Linked DNA regions of Homo sapiens: regions 2 and 3 are each linked to region 1. Evidence: promoter capture Hi-C in 16 types of primary human blood cells and fetal thymus (Javierre and others, 2016). All regions are on one chromosome and are shown on one strand. Each heading gives the region's core, a stretch centred on a gene start or on the middle of the fragment in contact. The rest is flanking DNA. Distances are from core to core; before and after follow the strand shown. Region 1 holds the start of KCNV2 (potassium voltage-gated channel modifier subfamily V member 2). Region 2 overlaps LOC105375955 (a long non-coding RNA gene). Region 3 has its middle 280 kb from the start of VLDLR.

Region 1 (3,983 bases), core at 1,484-3,983:
AACACAGTGAGACTCTGTCTCAAAAAAAAAAAAAAAAAGTAGTATATTATTTCAATTGAAAAAGAAGAAGATAAAAATATGAAAATGGTGATATTTTTACTTTTTTTTTTTTTGTCGAGACCAAGTCTCACTCTGTCACCCAGGCTGGAGTATAGCAGCATGATCTCAGCTCACTGCAACTTCTGTCTCCCGGGTTCAAACAATTCTTGTGTGTCAGCCTCCTGAGTAACTGGGATTACAGGCACCCGCCAACATGCCCAGCCCGGCTAATTTTTGTATTTTTAGTAGAGATGGGGTTTCACCAAGTTGGCCAGGCTGGTCTCAAACTCCTTACCTCGAGTGATCCACCTACCTCGGCCTCCCAAAGTGCTAGGATTACAGGCGTGAGCCACCACACCCAGTCTTTACTTTTTATAATAGTATAATTGGTTCTGAAGAGAAAAGGTGAATTTATGCAACATGCAAAATCTATTATGGCAGTACTCAGCACAATATAAAGAAAAGATAGACTTGGAAAGCAATTAAGTGTGTGGCTAGCAAAACAACATCAATATTGTATACCAAAAAGGGAACGCTAGAAATACATTTAGGAACTTAAAGGCTAAGCCTGGTAAGAAGCTTTACCATAAGCTTGTAGGTCTGAGGCCTATTGCAAGCTAAACAACATCAGTGAATGCCACACTAGCAGATGCAGACCTCATAACGTTACCCGTCTCAACAACTTTGAAGCATAGTTAAAACTCAACTAAGTGACAAAGATAGTACCACAAATCAGTGAGGAAATGATGGATTATGCAATTAATGTGTTGAAACATCTGGATAAAAGCTTGGAAAATAAAGTTAGGCCCCTACTTCACTCTTTACATCAAAATTAATTTCTGATGTTAAAACTATAAAAAGAAAAGTTTTATTTACAGAGAGGTGAAGCCTTTTCTAATACTACACAACACCCAGAAATCATAAAATAAAGATTTTTACATGGAAAAAATATTAAAGTTAAAACCGAAAAAAGGTGCAATCCATATCACAAGTAAAGGGTCTTTTTTCATAATGTATTAAGCTCTCCTACAAATCAATAAGAAAAATGTAAACAACTCAGTGGAAAATATAGGCAAAGTCGATGAACAGACAGTTCCCAGAAAAAGAAATAGCTTTTAATCACATGAAAAAGTGTTCAATCACATTTATAAGAAATACAAATTAACCCACACATCATTTTTCACTTACAAAATTGGTAGAGTTAAAAAAGTATAAGACATTTTCAACCGTTGATGAATTGTAAATTGGTAAAACTTTTATGGAGAGAAATGTAGCACTACTAATCAAAATTACAAATGTGCAATCTTTGACCTAGTAATCTCACCTCTAAGAATTTATCCTTTATATATCTTGAACATGTGTAAAGTGATGTACATATAAGGTATTTGTTGCATAATTGTCCATAAAAGCAAAGGTAGAAACATTCTGAATGTCTGTCATTAGGAAAGTGCTCAGTGGCTATTTTTAAAATAAGGTAGATATTTGTGTTCAAATATGAAAACATCTTTTATATGGCCAACTGGAAAAGGCAAAGTATATAGCATTCTATGATTTCTATTAATAATGAAGAGGTACTGAGATGATGGATAAAGGTAGGTATATTTTTGCTTGTATATGTTTAGAATATTTCTGGAAGGATAGCCAAAAGGTAGTAATAGTGGTTGCTTCCTTGAGGTACACCTGATGTCTTGAAATTATGGGTGGGAAAGACATAAACTTTCTACTGTAATATGTCTTTTTACCTTTACAATTTTTTATCATGAATGTGTATTAGCTATGCAAAATAAATTGAATAGAAAAACCAATTCCCTGCTCAAAGCAAATCCCTCCTGCTTCTCTCCTCCCCAGTATTTATTGCATCTTTTGTTATCCTTGCATGTTTATATCCCCAACAAAACCAAGAGTTCTTTGACTGCTACAACTGTGTCTCCATCGTGTTTGCATATCCAGCATTTGCACATTGCCTTAATCATGAAAAGGGTTTTTTTTTTTTTTTTAAAGTGATGTTTTGAAGGATGAAGAAGACCCTTTTTTTTTGGGTGGAAGTCAGGCTCCCTTTAAATATGGCCTAATATTGCTGAGCAGGGTTGTGAGGCCCTAAAAACGTCTTCCTACCATTCCTGGAATTCTACCTTGAAACATGTCTCTATCCTTTAAGAGAAAGGGAGGAGATAAAAAGGAGAGAGAGAAGCTGAAGCTGACTCAAAGATCCGACTGGACCTGAACAGTGCCCCAGGGAGAATCCATTTGAAAAAAAAAAAAAAATGTGATCATGTGAATGGACAAGAAGGAGATGGCTTTAGATCTTATATGCTCTAAACGAAGAGTTACGCTGAGAGGGAAACTGACTTGTCATGAAGTCAGCTTTGTTCCGTTGCTATGTGTCATCCCTGCTAATGGTGAGTTTACCTAGGGCAGAGGCTACCATCTCAACCATGAAGCTGAAGACACAGGCATCCGTATTCTATAGCTAATTCAGTTGATTTCATCTCAGCACACATACACTGAGCGCTTCCTAAGAGCGAGGTTGACCGACATTTTTATTAGCAATAATCTCTGCCTTCTTCTGATTACCTAGAGATTTAAGACCACATAATCATCCTCTACCTCACAGGGTCAAGGGAGTGGGGGAGGAAATGGGCTAAGAGGTTCTAAATCCCTCCTAACACTTGCTTCTTCCAAATCAGCAAGATTAGAGCAGTCAACAGCTGACTGCGTTCAGACCCTGCAGGCTGGGCTGGCCTGCCCAGGACCTGAGAAGGGGCAGCTCCGGTGGCAATGTCTGAGCCCCTAGCTGTGCTGGTCCGGGCTGGCCTCTCTAAGACAGTGCAGGCCACGTGATCCATCCTCCTAGAGGCAGTGAGCAGGTGAGGGACCCCTACCACAGCCAGGAGGAAAAAGCTAGGCGTCCACTTTCCGCAGCCATGCTCAAACAGAGTGAGAGGAGACGGTCCTGGAGCTACAGGCCCTGGAACACGACGGAGAATGAGGGCAGCCAACACCGCAGGAGCATTTGCTCCCTGGGTGCCCGTTCCGGCTCCCAGGCCAGCATCCACGGCTGGACAGAGGGCAACTATAACTACTACATCGAGGAAGACGAAGACGGCGAGGAGGAGGACCAGTGGAAGGACGACCTGGCAGAAGAGGACCAGCAGGCAGGGGAGGTCACCACCGCCAAGCCCGAGGGCCCCAGCGACCCTCCGGCCCTGCTGTCCACGCTGAATGTGAACGTGGGTGGCCACAGCTACCAGCTGGACTACTGCGAGCTGGCCGGCTTCCCCAAGACGCGCCTAGGTCGCCTGGCCACCTCCACCAGCCGCAGCCGCCAGCTAAGCCTGTGCGACGACTACGAGGAGCAGACAGACGAATACTTCTTCGACCGCGACCCGGCCGTCTTCCAGCTGGTCTACAATTTCTACCTGTCCGGGGTGCTGCTGGTGCTCGACGGGCTGTGTCCGCGCCGCTTCCTGGAGGAGCTGGGCTACTGGGGCGTGCGGCTCAAGTACACGCCACGCTGCTGCCGCATCTGCTTCGAGGAGCGGCGCGACGAGCTGAGCGAACGGCTCAAGATCCAGCACGAGCTGCGCGCGCAGGCGCAGGTCGAGGAGGCGGAGGAACTCTTCCGCGACATGCGCTTCTACGGCCCGCAGCGGCGCCGCCTCTGGAACCTCATGGAGAAGCCATTCTCCTCGGTGGCCGCCAAGGCCATCGGGGTGGCCTCCAGCACCTTCGTGCTCGTCTCCGTGGTGGCGCTGGCGCTCAACACCGTGGAGGAGATGCAGCAGCACTCGGGGCAGGGCGAGGGCGGCCCAGACCTGCGGCCCATCCTGGAGCACGTGGAGATGCTGTGCATGGGCTTCTTCACGCTCGAGTACCTGCTGCGCCTAGCCTCCACGCCCGACCTGAGGCGCTTCGCGCGCAGCGCCCTCAACCTGGTGGACCTG
Region 2 (3,983 bases), core at 716-3,215, 420 kb before region 1:
AGGGAGAGAGGGGGAGGCTCACTTAAGTGTGGTCTAGTTTTCTCGCTGTAATGATGGCAGGCTCTGATCAGCCTCTTTTTCTTCTCTCTTTAATTCCTCTGTTCTTTCTTTCTATGAGACAGGAGCAAGAATTAAATGAATGACGTGAGGTAGGATCTAGAGAACTCCAGAAAATTGAATTGTCTGAGCTGTAGTGGCTTGACTGGCTGGCTGAGATAATCAGTCCTCCAAATTGGTCCTGCAATCTTAAGCTAGGCATTGGTAGACTGTGCCAAACCCACACATGGTTTTCACTGATCTCTCTATTTGTTCTCAGTTTCCACCTACCTCCCAACTCCTAAGCCTTTTCCCCCAGATGTCCATGCCCCAGGCTCTTTAAAATTACTGTTTAGCTGCCATTTACCAAGCTCTGAAATGTCCCATGTGCTATGTGGGTGCTCCATGATGTTCCAAGGGAGCAGTGTTGTAATCCATTTCAAAGGTGAGAAATACATTCTGCCTGAATATCCAGTAGGTGCTGGAGTTTTAATGCAAACTTGGAATTGCCCATTCTTAGAGCCTGTGCTCTTTTTCTCTTGAAGTTTGTACAATGTGAGTTTTTGTAACACAGGGAATGAATAACGCTAAAATACTCACAGGGCACATCTGAGACTTTGCCTGGCAACTTACTAGGATGATAAGCTTCCTTTGTTGAAGTTTCTTTAGATCTCAGATTCCCTAGTTATGAAATAAGTGGGGTTGGACTGGCTGATCCCACTCCAACCTCTTAGAGTCTGTGAGAGCTCAGGACAGAGCAGTTATATTTCTGTTAATCCTGGGAATTCTGCCTCTTAGGCCGGAGTCCTGGAAACTTAGCTATTGGAGAGTAATCCGCTTCAGACAATGAGCCCTCTAAATGAGATTTTTTCAGACTAGATTGTAGTATTTCAGCTCTTTGTTCCCATGAACACACACATGCTTGGAGGTCCATGAGACCAAATCTGTTCTTTGGGAAAGATGATATCCCTCTTTCTTTGGGAAAGATAATATCCCATCTTTGGGAAAGATATCAAATGCAGGAATGTAAGCAATTCCTGCATTTGAAAAAGACCAAATTTGGGGTATGTCCTGGGGGAAACTGTATTTGAAGAAGAAAGTTTATTACAAAGCTTTATGGAAGGAAAGAAGCTTAAGCGGTTCATGTAGATGAGCTCTAAGGCACTGCTGAAATAGGGGCCTAGGAAAGAAAAAGTGATTTAACCTGATCATATGGAACAGAGGTAAAGCAGCAGCACTTTTACTGCCAAGATAGATGAAAGGGATGAAGAGAAAAAAGCCAAGGGCATATTACAGTAGGCTTGATAAATGTCATCCTGAAATCTAACTCAGTATTTGAATGCTATAAATTGTGTTAAGAAATATAAGGCCAAATAAACCTTTGGGACTGTTTGTGACTGATTCAAGGCGACTGAGTTTAAACTGCTGCTGATGAAATGGATGAGGGTAGAATAATGGTATTAGCAATTTAACAAAATCCTAATAAATCAGAGACGAAACTTGATTTAAGTTACACAGAAAGCCTTGCCAGAGCACATGGCCTCAACTCGGCTGAAGCCTGTGATTAGGATGGGAGCTGAAGTTGGAGCATGGAATCGCTGCTATTTTGGATTCACTTCTACATCCTAAGGAGGTTCCATCAAGTGGTAACAGGGAAAGCATCTGCTCTGAATTCACTCACCACATTTGCAAGCCTTGCGTTTTTGTCACATGTGAATCTCACCTGTGTACTCCCATTTTATCAACTCTCTGGTTTGAAATCATCTCATCCATCCCTCAGTTACCACCTTAGGAGCAAAGGTTTCATACCCAGTTAAGAAAGGACCTGGGAAGAAGGTAATAGGAAGTGAATATTTTATCAGCATAAGAAAGAGCTTTCATCTTATTTCTTAACCCCTGAGAGCCCTGTAATGTCAATATTTGTATAAAACATGAAAACAATGTTTGTAACATATATGCATATGAGGGCTAATAATTTAACATACAATTTCTGAAGTGTTCCATCTCCTAGAATGATGGTTGCCCTGGGGCCTTCCAGTCATGAAGCAATGGATTTAAGATCTTCAGGGAAAGGGTGGAGGCCAACTCTAGCAATGGAGTTATTTCTCATCTTTGACTAGCAAATAGGATTTTTGAGTCACTAGCAAGATAATAGTCTTCAAAGTCAGGCTTTGGTGAAGAAAAATAAATTTCTAAATTCCTTGAGCTCCCATTAACATGTCAGGAATCATTGCTGGTGGACTGGCTCATAGAGTTTCTATAAACCTTGATAGAGAAAACTTAGCATATAATGTAAGGGAAGCCTTGGCTACACCGGAAAGGCAGGGAGAAATCTTGCATCTTTAGGGTTGAGGAATTGTGGGAAGAAGAAGATAGGAACCAGGGAACAGCCAAAGAGTTAAACACATGTGTTCACAGTTTCGCTTCTTGGGAGAATCTTGAGTGAATCCAACACTGAGGTTGGTGGCCTGCTACCCTCACTGGAACCTCTGTGCTTTGCAACTGCAGGGGCACCAGTTACATTGTATTCTTTGTGAACGGCCATTCCTGGAGTTTTGTAATGCTGTGGCCCTTTTTTCAAGCAAGGCCTTATGAGGACTTCAGGTCTCTAGGAAAAATCTGGTAGAAGGATATGGGGCAGCACCAGTAGAGGAAAGTGGCTTGAGGGGCGAGCCTCTGGAAGCTCTCTTGGCTCTGCTGAACTTTGGTGTGTTGGGTAAAAGGTCTGAAGCTTGCTTCATGGCCTGGTGAGAACTCACAGAGCTGCCAAGAAGGGCCTGGCATCAGAAATAAGCAACTACCAAGGACAGGAAAGTCAACAACAAATGCCAGCCATGAGCATCAGATGATAAACTTCATGCCACGAGGCCAGGTGAAATTGTCAGAATTGGCAAATGCCAATCCTGAGATCAGATCGACACCCCATGCCAGGTTGGCAGAGAGGGGCAGTACCCAGGCCAGCTTTCTCTCACCACCTCAACCCCCTTCCTATGTCTCCACTCCCCCAGTTATCAGAAATACCCTCAAGCTTTCACCTCCACCCAGAAGCCATCTTGAAAAGCAGGAAGAAGACGGGGGTAAACAGCTCTGTTCAAAGAGTTTAAGTTAAAATTATATGAATGTTTGTTCCCAAAAAAGCATTTGAATATGTAGATACTATTAATTTCCAAATTCTGCCCTTATTCTCACCCCATCTCCCTACTATCTAGCAAGATTGGGAGGGAGACTGGCAGTTAATAAGGAAGACTGGATCAGTTAAAGACTATAAAGAAGCTTGTATTTTGTTTTGTTTTGTTTTTGCCAGCTTAGTGAAGTATGCATTTGCAATCCTGTTCTACCATGTTGGTGCATAGCTCTTAGTCCTTTAGACAAACAGCTCTTAAACAATTCTACTGTGATTTGTCTGAGATTCCTAGAAATCTCCTACCTTCCAAGTAAGGAAGGGATTAATGGCTGAGTACACACACTCTGGGATGGAGTTAAAGCATCAGACTCTTGGGGCTGGAGCCATCTGGGAGACCATCTCATTAATGAAAGGTTTTATTTTCAGACAGAAAACTGCAACCCAAGAAGCTTCTACTTCTTGTCTTCTGGAACTCTATCTGGGGTCTCTGAGTTGCTGAAAAGAAGCCTGACTACCCACCTACACATGCTAGAGAACATCTAGACACTCCATTCCCACCAATGTGTTAAACATTGAGTGAGCTGTCTTAGACCATACTTACTCATTCACCAGATGAATTCCACCTAGTGACTTCAGTTTATATCACGTGAAGAAGAAAAATTGCCAACCTGAGCCCTTTCCGAATTCCTGATCCAAAATCATTAGATAAAATAAAATGCCAGTTGTTTTAACTGGTTACAGTTTGGGATGGTCTGCTATCCAGCCATAGGCAACTAGTGTAGTAGAAAGAAAGTGCAATAGAGTGTTAGAAAAGAAGAAATTA
Region 3 (3,983 bases), core at 372-2,871, 380 kb before region 1:
GCAAATGAGGCACGGGTTTTTTTTGAGGGGACTCACATACAGGGCACTCCAGTGGCAGCAGGCTGGACAGGAGAACCACTGCCATTTGTAAAAATCATGCAGTTCATACAACATTTTTGCTTAACATCTTTCCCCTAGCACCTTCCCCCTAGCAACCTTCATTTAACCCAAAACAAAGGGCCTTGATTCCCTGTATGGCCTGCATTCCATGGCTTGGGCCAGGGGTTTAGATGTTCCTCATAGATGAGGAATGAATCTGCAGGTTGGTCACTCCCAGATTCCCCCGCTCGAAACTCCCAACGCACATTATGTTTAGACCATAGGGTCATTCTCAGGGTATCTTAAGTCATTGTTGTCAGGAACATCTGCCAAATTTCTAGACATGACTGAACTTTCGTTTACCTCTAGGAAGCCATAGCGTTTTTTAAAACCCATATTATAGTAGTAAGTATTTTACAAAGCGTTTATTTTTGTTATCTTCACTAGATGAAGTTTTTTGATCACAGAAAATATTCCTATTGTATTCCCAAGACCATGCACAATGCCTAGGGGTGTAATAAGTGTCTATTAGACCTAAGCCACTCTTGTGGCGAGGTGTCTCCCTGTTAGCCCGTTTGGCTCCACTGCCTGAGGACAACCAGTCACAGAGCGTCCAGCTCCTATTGTCACTTCCAGACTCTGATGAAGTACACACTGCAGAGTTTCCCAGACACCTGCTGAAAAGACTAAGAAAAACAACTCAGAAACGAGTCTTTGTAGCAATGTTTTAAGAGTAGCAGATGGGAAGGAGCCATTAGATAAATTCTCCTTTCCTCCCTACAATAGGTTGTTCCAAGGAAAAGCATGTATGGAGGTTTCCTGCATGATTGGGCAGGTGAAGCTGCTGAGTAATTGGCTAAATCTCTTCATGACTCATTGTGAACTATTGTCCAGGTGGTAACACATTACCTTCTATTGCTTACCATCCTTGTGTTTCAACTCTGTATTCCATTATTTTCACTGCCCTGGGCTCCAAATAATATATTCGCACATAATCTTTGGTACAGACTTTGTTTTCTAAGAAACTTAGGCTAAAACAGTTTGTTTCAGAAATGGTTATGGAAAGCAGGCCCTCAGTAAGATTTGGAGTTTGACTGCCCACAGATCAGAAATTAATAAGGACTGCAATGCTGGTAGTAAATGGATTGTTAATAACCCCTGGTATGCAATGATGTTGCAAGTACTTAGGCATTCACTTGCAGCTGGTTGAGGTGAGCTGCATGTGAAAAGCAAGGCATTGAGAGATCTAGTAATTGTGGCATTTCATCAGTATGAGGACAATGATAATTATATATATTTTGGAGTAATGTGACTGTACTGTACTCCTTGCAAAAAGAAAGTGTTTGTCCCAGGGCTTGTAATTGCACACTGTGAAAATCTCTCTTTAGTGTCTTTAAAAGAAACTCTTAGCTTCTTAAATTTCAAGGTAGACTGTGATGAAAATCAGGCCTAGGATCTAATTATAAAGCACAGTTCCTGCAAAGTATGCTTATATAATGTGCACAGGCCTCTTGTGTGAAAATTAGGGCCTTGATTGAAACATAGAATGAGGATATCTGCATGGGTGAACCTGACAATTTTAAACTCCCAAGTTCTTCTGCGCTTTCTCTATAAGCCCAACAGCCCACTTGCCTGGATACCATTCAATGATGCTTATTCTTGTCAGTATCTTCCCTATCACCTCTCATGGTTTCTAGGCCAATAAACAGAGTCAGGAGTCAGCGCAGCCCAAGCGAAAAAGTACAAGCTCTGCTTTTGGAAAAGAATAGTTTACATACTAAGAGAATTATTTGATCTGGCTGATATATACGGACAGGCTCCAGAAGAACACATGATATGAAAATGGATCCTGAGAATGTTGGGCTGAGAGAGAGACGGAGGGAATAGAATATACACTGGATAGAGAAGAATGTATTGATATGGGGAATGCACCATGATTTGAGCTTCAGTGCTTTGGCAAGGATATCTGGAGCTTGTTCAATATTCTGTAGAAAAGGATGTGGAATATTGAACATGATGATGGCTTCTATAAAAATGAAGTTAAAGATGTCCAGATTTCCCTGGTGTCGTGTTAAGGAACACATCAGAATACTTAGGGAAGGGGAGTATCATTAACTTAACCAAGCAATGTCACAATCACAACTTTTAGGCCAGATGTAGTATATTCAGTAGAGAATTTCAACATAGCCTTTGGTCCATAATCTACTGCTATGGATTTAGTGAATGCTTTCTTCTGGATATGCAACAATAGGGAGAATGAAAAGTAGCATGTCATTACATGAAAAGGATATCAGTATATGTTTACTGTATTGCTGTAAGGCTATAATGTAGTCCAGAGAACTTGATCATCTTGACATTCTACAGAACATCACATTGGTCCACTATACTGATAATATCACGTTAAGTGGACTGGATGAACTAGAAGTGGAGCTTACACTAGCTGCCCTAGTAAGAAATATGCATGCCCAAATTTGGGAGACGGGAAAAAAAGGAGATTTAAGAGTCTGCCCCATCAGGGAAGTTTTCAGGTGTCCAGTAGTTAAGGACGTGCCAGGGCATTCATTCTAATGTAAAAGACAAGTTATTGTACCTCTCACTTTCTATCATTTGTGATGAGGCACAACACTTGTATCTCATTCTGGATTTTGGAGGAAGCATATGGTATACTTGGGAATCTTTCTGCAACCCATTCATGGGTTGACTCAGAAGACTTCAAACAAGGCCCAGGGCAAAAATAGGGTTTTGTAACAGCTCTAGACTCAAAAGCTGCAGTTTCAGTGGTGGCTAATTGTTTGGATAGATAGAGGTAACGTATGGAGTTTCTGCAATGCCATTAAAAATGAGCTGTGGGCAGATCCATAGAGTTCTGGAGAATGCCATGCCTTCTTCAGCAGAGAATTATGATGTTTGCAAAACAGCTCCTGGCATTTAAATGTTTCCTACTGGAGACTGCACACCTCATCATGGAGCACCAAGCGCCTCTATGAATGGAGGTGCTCTTTATGGTCTGGATATCACCAGGTCCACTGAACCAAGTAGTAGAGCAGGCACAACAGCAAATCACTGTATAATGAAAGGGGTTTATTGGGGACAAGATTCCAGTACCTCCGAAAGAATGAGTAAATTACAAAATCAGATGGCCCAGATCCCTGTATTAAGTACTTAAGTTACATTGATGCCTCTCCCTCACTCATCATACCTTTGACCAATGAGATTTTTTCCACAATTGACTATTGAAGGTCTAAAGGGTTCTAGTCCAATTCACTAATGAGTCTGAGCAATATGTTGGTGCTAGTTGTAAATAGGCAGCTGCTACACTACAGCGCCACACAGGTTTGACCTGAATTGATGGTGAAGGAAAGGGGTAAAGGGAAACCCTCTAGAGGGCAGAGCTGTGTGCAGTAGACTTACCATCATTTCATATGGAGGAAGAGGCAGCTTGAGGGATAGATATACACTGACTCAAGAGCAGTGGTGAATGGGTGCTTGAGGAGGAGACTAACAAGACCAGAAAATCATTGACTAGGAGGTCTGGGAAAAAGGTATGTGGATGGGTCTGTGAGAATGGGCACAAATTGTACAGATATTTGGATTTTGTATTAATGCCTACCAAAAAAAAATCAACTGCAGAAAAATCTATCAACAGCCAGGTAGTCAGAATGTTTTATCCTATGGGTACCCATAAGCTTTTTTTTTTTTTTTTTTTTTTTTTGTCTTTTCTAGGGATTCTGCAATGGACTAACAGAGTGGCCATGGTAGCAGGAATGGAAGCTTTGTATGGACCCAATGGGCTCCCTTCTTCAAGGATTGTGTAGCTAGTGCCACCAATAAAGGCCAATCAACCACCAGCAGTGATCAACACAGAGCCCGCAGTATGACACCGTCCTTGGAAAGACCACCAAGATACTTTGTGGCATATTCATTATTTTAGATCTTTTCCACTC

The links. The method cuts DNA at HindIII sites, captures the fragments that hold promoters and counts their contacts. A CHiCAGO score of 5 or more calls a contact.
Region 2: a fragment that was not itself captured here is called in contact with the fragment with the promoter of KCNV2 in region 1 in 1 of 17 cell types (endothelial precursors); the score reaches 5.0 in endothelial precursors.
Region 3: a fragment that was not itself captured here is called in contact with the fragment with the promoter of KCNV2 in region 1 in 1 of 17 cell types (endothelial precursors); the score reaches 6.4 in endothelial precursors.

Annotation. Positions count from the first base shown.
Region 1 is chr9:2,714,777-2,718,759 of GRCh38, forward strand. KCNV2 (potassium voltage-gated channel modifier subfamily V member 2) reads left to right here and starts at 2,734. Exons shown (of 2, transcript NM_133497.4): 1 at 2,734-3,983. The coding sequence starts at 2,964. The HindIII fragment of the contact is 3,823 bases long and covers 825-3,983 here.
Region 2 is chr9:2,293,013-2,296,995 of GRCh38, forward strand. It overlaps LOC105375955 (a long non-coding RNA gene), which reads left to right. Exons shown (of 4, transcript XR_929426.3): 4 at 3,587-3,891. Among named protein-coding and RNA genes, the nearest start is that of SMARCA2, 280 kb to the left of the region's middle. The HindIII fragment of the contact is 1,600 bases long and covers 1,166-2,765 here.
Region 3 is chr9:2,339,350-2,343,332 of GRCh38, forward strand. No RefSeq gene overlaps it. Among named protein-coding and RNA genes, the nearest start is that of VLDLR, 280 kb to the right of the region's middle. The HindIII fragment of the contact is 4,203 bases long and covers 1-3,723 here.